2 separate regions of the Homo sapiens genome follow, and region 2 is linked to region 1. The links are contacts of gene promoters, found by promoter capture Hi-C in human tissues and cell types (Jung and others, 2019). All regions are on one chromosome and are shown on one strand. Each heading gives the region's core, a stretch centred on a gene start or on the middle of the fragment in contact. The rest is flanking DNA. Distances are from core to core; before and after follow the strand shown. Region 1 holds the start of SLC15A3 (solute carrier family 15 member 3). Region 2 holds the start of LOC105369325 (a long non-coding RNA gene).

Region 1 (2,823 bases), core at 8-2,507:
AGGTCACGCTGGGGGCCAGCCCTCCTTCCCTCCACACCCGCCGGAGTATGCCGGGGCAGGCCTCCTGCCACTCACCTGGTCGGCACCGAAGGAGGTGAGGTTGCTCCGGACGGAGCTGGCGGCCAGGCCGAGTAGCAGCAGGCCCGCGTAGAGGACGGGCGCGCAGTAGGGGCTGGGCGAGGAGCGCGGGCAGCCGGCCGAGGGGCAGGCAGGTCCCAGCGGCGACGCGGGCATCTCTCCGCAGAAGGAGCTGCGGCCGTCGGGGAAGGCGGTGGCGGGCAGCAGGCCCGAGGCGGCCAGGTAGAGCAGCAGGCTGAGCGCGACCGCGCGGTAGCGGCCCAGGTACACGTCGGCCAGCCAGCCGCCCACGGGCGCCAGCAGGTAGGAGGCGCCCAGGAATACCAGCGCGGCGCGCGTCGCCTGCTCGCCGGTCCAGTTGAAGTTGGTGCTGTTGAGGTACAGCACGAGGTTGGCGGTGACGCCGAAGAAGGCGGCGCGCTCCAGCATCTCCACCAGCAGCACGGCCGCGCCCGCCGCCCGCCGCCACCGTCGAGGGCCCCGCGCACCGCGAGGCAGCAGCGGCTGGCGCTCCCCGGGCACGCGGGGCTGCTCCCGGGCGCGCGGCGCGGGCATCCTGGCTCCGGGCTGGGCCCCCCGCGGCTCTTCTCTCCTCTCCTCTCCCCGCCTCAGAGCCCTGCACTCCTGCCCCCGGGCCTCGGCCCTCTCCCCCACCCAACTGGCTGGCCCTCCTTTCTCACCGCTTTGGCCCACCCTTCCCTCCTGTCCCCTCTCCCTTTCTTGCCCTACCCTTCCTGTCCCTCCGCTCACTACCCGGACTCTACCACCTCCTCCCTAATTCTCAACTCCCCTCTCCCTTCCCCCACCCCTAAGGCTTCCTCCCCGCGCCTCTCCTGCAGCTGTTTCTCCCTAACTCTCCCCTCTCCTCCCTCCACCTTGACCCTTCCTCGCACTCTTGTTCACACTGCGACCCTCCCTGCTTCACTTCGCTGCCCCTCCGCCTCCCTTTCCCCTCCCCGTTTGTCGCCCCTTCCTGTTGTCCCCTCTCCTTATGACTCCTGGCCTGCCCTGGGCGTGGGGTGGGGGCTCCCTCTGCCCCAGTCACCCTGCTGCCCCTTGCCGTCTTCTCCACCTCCTCCCTGTCCCCCTCACCCCCACTGCCTACACTCCCCTCTCAGTCCCCTGCAGCCCTCCCCCCAGGCTCAGCCTCTGTCCCTCTCTCGGCTTCTTGAGAAACTCTGGGCTCCCCTCGCTTCCCCTTTCACAGGCCCTATCCGCAGTCCCCTGCCTGCATCACATGGCGCTACTGGGTGTTTAGGAGAAGTGAAAGCCTGGGTCACAGGGCTCCTGCCCGGTCAGCTTTCTAAAAACCTCCCTCCTTCTCTACCTCTGCCTCCTACCCCAAACCCCCGCTGCTGGCCTCCTTAGAGCCAAAAAATTCCAGGAGGAATTTTTTCTTTCAGTTTCATTTCTCGCCAGGATTCCACTTTTGCTTTACCCTCTTCCAATCAAACTCCACGCCTCCACCCGAGGCGCCACGGGTAGAAAGAAGTGGAAAGGCTACCTGCATCATTTGGTCACACTCAGCCATTTCACAGATGCAGAGACAGACCCAGTGGGGCTAGGGCAGGAAGGTGGAGAAAGATTGGTTCCTGGTAACTGAACTAGGGGTGAAGCCCTGCCCCGGGCTCCTGAGTGGCAGGGAAATTCACAGCGCAATTCGGATTGCACAGAGGCTGCTGTGAGGAAGGAAGTGGGGCACTTTCAACAAGCCTGCGGGCCATAGAGGACCACAAGTGAGTCGGGATTGAGAGGGACACCGACCTCAGACTAAATCAGAGTCAGCCTCAGAACTCCTAAGCACCAGCCCCACCCTGACCTAGGAGCCCGGGGGATCTGGCCTCTGCTCTCCTCTGATCTCATCTCAGCCCCATGTTCACTCAAGTCCAGCCAGCCGGCCTCCCAGGTTCCCCTTCCATGCTAAGCTCCTCCCTGCCTCAGGGCCTTTGTCTTTGCTGACCCCTCTGCCATAACTGCTCTCCCTCCATATCCTTGCATGGCTGGCTGCTTCTCTTTATTGAGGTTTCAGCATATATGTCTCCTTTGTAGGGACCTTCCCTGATTTTCCCATCTAAGTAGTTTCCTACTGGATTCTCAGCATCCCCCATCACATTGTCTTGTTTTAATGTCTTCAGAGCACATATTACTTGTTCAGTTAGCACCAGTAGAATAGGCCCTCCATCAGATCAGAGACCTTTTCTAACTCTTCACTGTTTTATTCTCAATGGCTTCCCAGTGCTTGGCAAATAGTAGGTGCTCAATAAGTATTGCCTGAATCAATGAATGGAAAGAGTGTCCCAAGGCAAAATTTGTAAGAATAATAATATCAGGAAAGCTAAAGCTAAATAAACTGAGTCTCACAAAAGCTATAGATACCAGCAAAAAAAGCACTATAGATACCAGCAAAAAAGCGAGGGATTTTTTGTTGTTGTTGTTTGTTTGTATGTTTGTTTTGAGACGAAGTCTCACTCTGTCGCCCAGGCTGCCATGCAGTGGCACAATCTCGGCTCACTGCAACCTCCACTTCCTGAGTTCAAGCAATTCTCCTGCCTCAGCCTTCTGAGTAGCTGGGATTACAAGCGCGTGCCATCACGCCTGGCTAATTTTTGTATTTTCAGTAGAGATGGGATTTCACCATGTTGGTCAGGCTAGTCTCAAACTCCTGACCTCATGATCCACCTGCTTCGGCCTCCCAAAGTCCTGGGATTACAGTTGTGGGCCACTGTAAGTTTTTAACATGTTAGA
Region 2 (2,700 bases), core at 1-2,500, 140 kb after region 1:
GTGACAGACACAGGCACACCCCACCCCAGATTACCTGGTGTGGCCCACGGCAGCACCGGCAGGCACCTCTCCGGTAGAGGTTGAGGAGGTTCTGACACCCGGCCCTGGGGGCTCAGCAACCCCTTCCCCCACCTTCAGCCTCTACTGGGCCTCGCTGCCTGGAAAACCCAGCCTGGGCTCAGCTGACTTCCTCTTGTGTCATGGAAAGTGCAGTGATGGGGACAGGAAACTCCCGCCAGGGATCTGAGGTCTGAGTGGGGACAGGGGCCCAGAGGTTTCTGGACCTGGAGGCCCGGAGGGGTGAAAGGGGCAGGGGTAACTTATGGGGGTGGGCAGCAGGGAGGGAGCCTATAGGGCAGTGTTCTCAGAGGGCAGCGACCCCCTCCACTAGGGTCGAGGCAGTGCCAAGCCCTGGGGGCCTGGAAGACAGCAACCCGAGGCCCTGAGCTACTTTCAGTTTTCCAAAACCAAACTAACAAACAAAAAGAGTAGAAGTTGTACTGTGATGAAGACTCTGAGATCAAAGCAAAGCCCAAATGTTTGGTTTGTTTTCTTTTCTTTGGGTAAGGAGGTGGGGAGTGGTGGCAAGGGTGGCAGAGTGAGGAAAACGTGGGATCATACTTCAGCGTTGACCTCCTGGGGCCGAATACTTTACCTTCTGAGCCTCAGTTTCCTCATCTGTGAAATGGAAAGCTGTGCCCACTTCCATGATAATTGGGAAGACTGAAGGAGCTGACGCCTCTGGCTAGAGGAAGGTGCTTAGTAAAACTTTCCTCGCTCTTTTGGGCTGCAATTATGTACACTGAGTGTGGGAACAGGGGCTGTGAAGGGCTGCTTACTGCACACAGCTGTGTGACCCACGAACAGCACTCATCAAGAAAAAACATCCCAGCAGAGTCTTTGGTGCTAAGAAGGGTGGAGCCATGTCTGTCTCTTTCGTCTTCACATCCCTGGGCTTAGCATGGGACAAATATTGATAAATGAATGAGTGAATGAATGAATGAATGAAAGAGGCTGGGATTTCCAGAGTCAAGGGACCAGGAAGGATGGATGTGAGGGCAAGGGGCAGGGGGCAGGGAACTGGGCCAGGCCTGGCCGGGAGGGGCCGGGTGAGGTTTCCCCATCCCAGGCTGAGGGCACCTCTGGCGGGAGGAAAAGGCACCTCTGAAGGCTGGATGAGGGATGGGTGTGGCCCCAATCACAGCTACCTTAGGAGTTCTCTTTCCTTGATCCTGGGGTGGGGGTCAAAGCTTCCCTCTGCCAAAGAGGTTCAAGCATGCAGCACCCTCCAGCCCTGAGTGAGCAGAAACCGGGGAGTGTCTAAGTGGGTCTAAGGGAGGAGACCACCCCTCCTATTGTCTTATGCCCGATTTCTGCCTCCAAAGAAAGAAGAAGTAAAAACTAAAAGGCAGAAATGAAATCCACAAGCAGACAGCTCGGCGCCACACCCTGGGCCTGGTAGTTAAAGATCGACCCCTGACCTAATCGGTTATGTCATCTATAGATTACAGACATTGTATAGAAAAGCACTGTGAAAATCCCTGTCCTGTTCTGTTCTAATTACCGGTGCATGCAGCCCCCAGTCACGTACCCCCTGCTTGCTCATTCGATCACGACCCTTTCAAGCGGACCCCCTTAGAGTTGTAAGCCCTTAAAAGGGACAGGAATTGCTCACTCAGGGAGCTCGGCTCTTGAGACAGGAGTCTTGCTGATGCTCCCGGCTGAATAAACCCCTTCCTTCTTTAACTTGGTGTCTGAGGGGTTTTGTCTGTGGCTTGTCCTGCTACATTTCTTGGTTCCCTGACCAGGAAGCAAAGTGATTAACGGACAGTTGAGGCAGCCCCTTAGGCAGCTTAGGCCTGCCTTGTGGAGCATCCCCGCGGGGAACTCTGGCCAGCTTGAGCGACACGGATCCTCAGAGCGCTCCCAGGTAGGCAATTGCCCCAGTGGAATGCCTCGTCAGAGCAGTGCATGGCAGGCCCCTGTGGAGGATCAACGCAGTGGCTGAACACAGGGAAGGAACTGGCACTTGGAGTCCGGACAACTGAAACTTGGTAAGACTAGTCCTTGGAACTTGCCCACTCCATTTGAGTGGAAGCATGGCCCAATCACCCATGGCATGCCTTTATCAGCACTTTGGTTTTGGTTTTGGTTTTGACTTGGTTTGAATCGCTTGACAGGACTGGTCTTGGGAACTTGCCTACTCCATTTGAGTAGAAGCGTGTCCTGATCACCCACAGTGTGCCTGTACCAGCACTTTGGTTTTTGTTTTTGACTTGTCTTGGATTGCTTGATACTTTGGTTTTGGTTTTGACCTGGCTTGGATTTCTTGATACTCTGATTTTGGTTTTGATTCTGGCTTGGCGTAAACTGTAAAAGTGTGTGTGTGCCCTTTTTACCCGTTCTTTGTTTTGTGGTGTGAGCATGGTGTTTTGTCTCGAGGAAACATGGGTCAGACACAAAGTAAGCCTACCCCACTAGGAACTATGTTGAAAAATTTCAAAAAGGGATTTAAGGGAGACTCTGGAGTCACTATGACACCAGGAAAACTTAGAGCTTTGTGTGAGATAGACTGGCCAGCATTAGAGGTGGGTTGGCCATCGGAAGGAAGCCTGGACAGGTCCCTTGTCTCGAAGGTATGGCACAGGGTAACCTGTAAGCCAGGGCACCCAGATCAGTTCTCACATATAGATTCTTGGT

The links. The method cuts DNA at HindIII sites, captures the fragments that hold promoters and counts their contacts. A contact is called where the count stands out against the background at its distance.
Region 2: a contact is called between a fragment that was not itself captured here and the fragment with the promoter of SLC15A3 in region 1, in 3 of the 25 tissues and cell types used here (H1 embryonic stem cells, lymphoblastoid cells and mesendoderm cells).

What each region holds. Positions count from the first base shown.
Region 1 is chr11:60,950,919-60,953,741 of GRCh38, forward strand. SLC15A3 (solute carrier family 15 member 3) reads right to left here and starts at 1,258. Exons shown (of 8, transcript NM_016582.3): 1 at 76-1,258. The coding sequence starts at 633. RefSeq lists silencers at 541-700, 1,021-1,250 and an enhancer at 1,431-1,570. The HindIII fragment of the contact is 25,133 bases long and covers 1-2,823 here.
Region 2 is chr11:61,092,263-61,094,962 of GRCh38, forward strand. LOC105369325 (a long non-coding RNA gene) reads right to left here and starts at 96. Exons shown (of 2, transcript NR_188502.1): 1 at 35-96. It also overlaps a transcript of CD5 not described here. RefSeq lists an enhancer at 1-659. The HindIII fragment of the contact is 6,674 bases long and covers 1-2,700 here.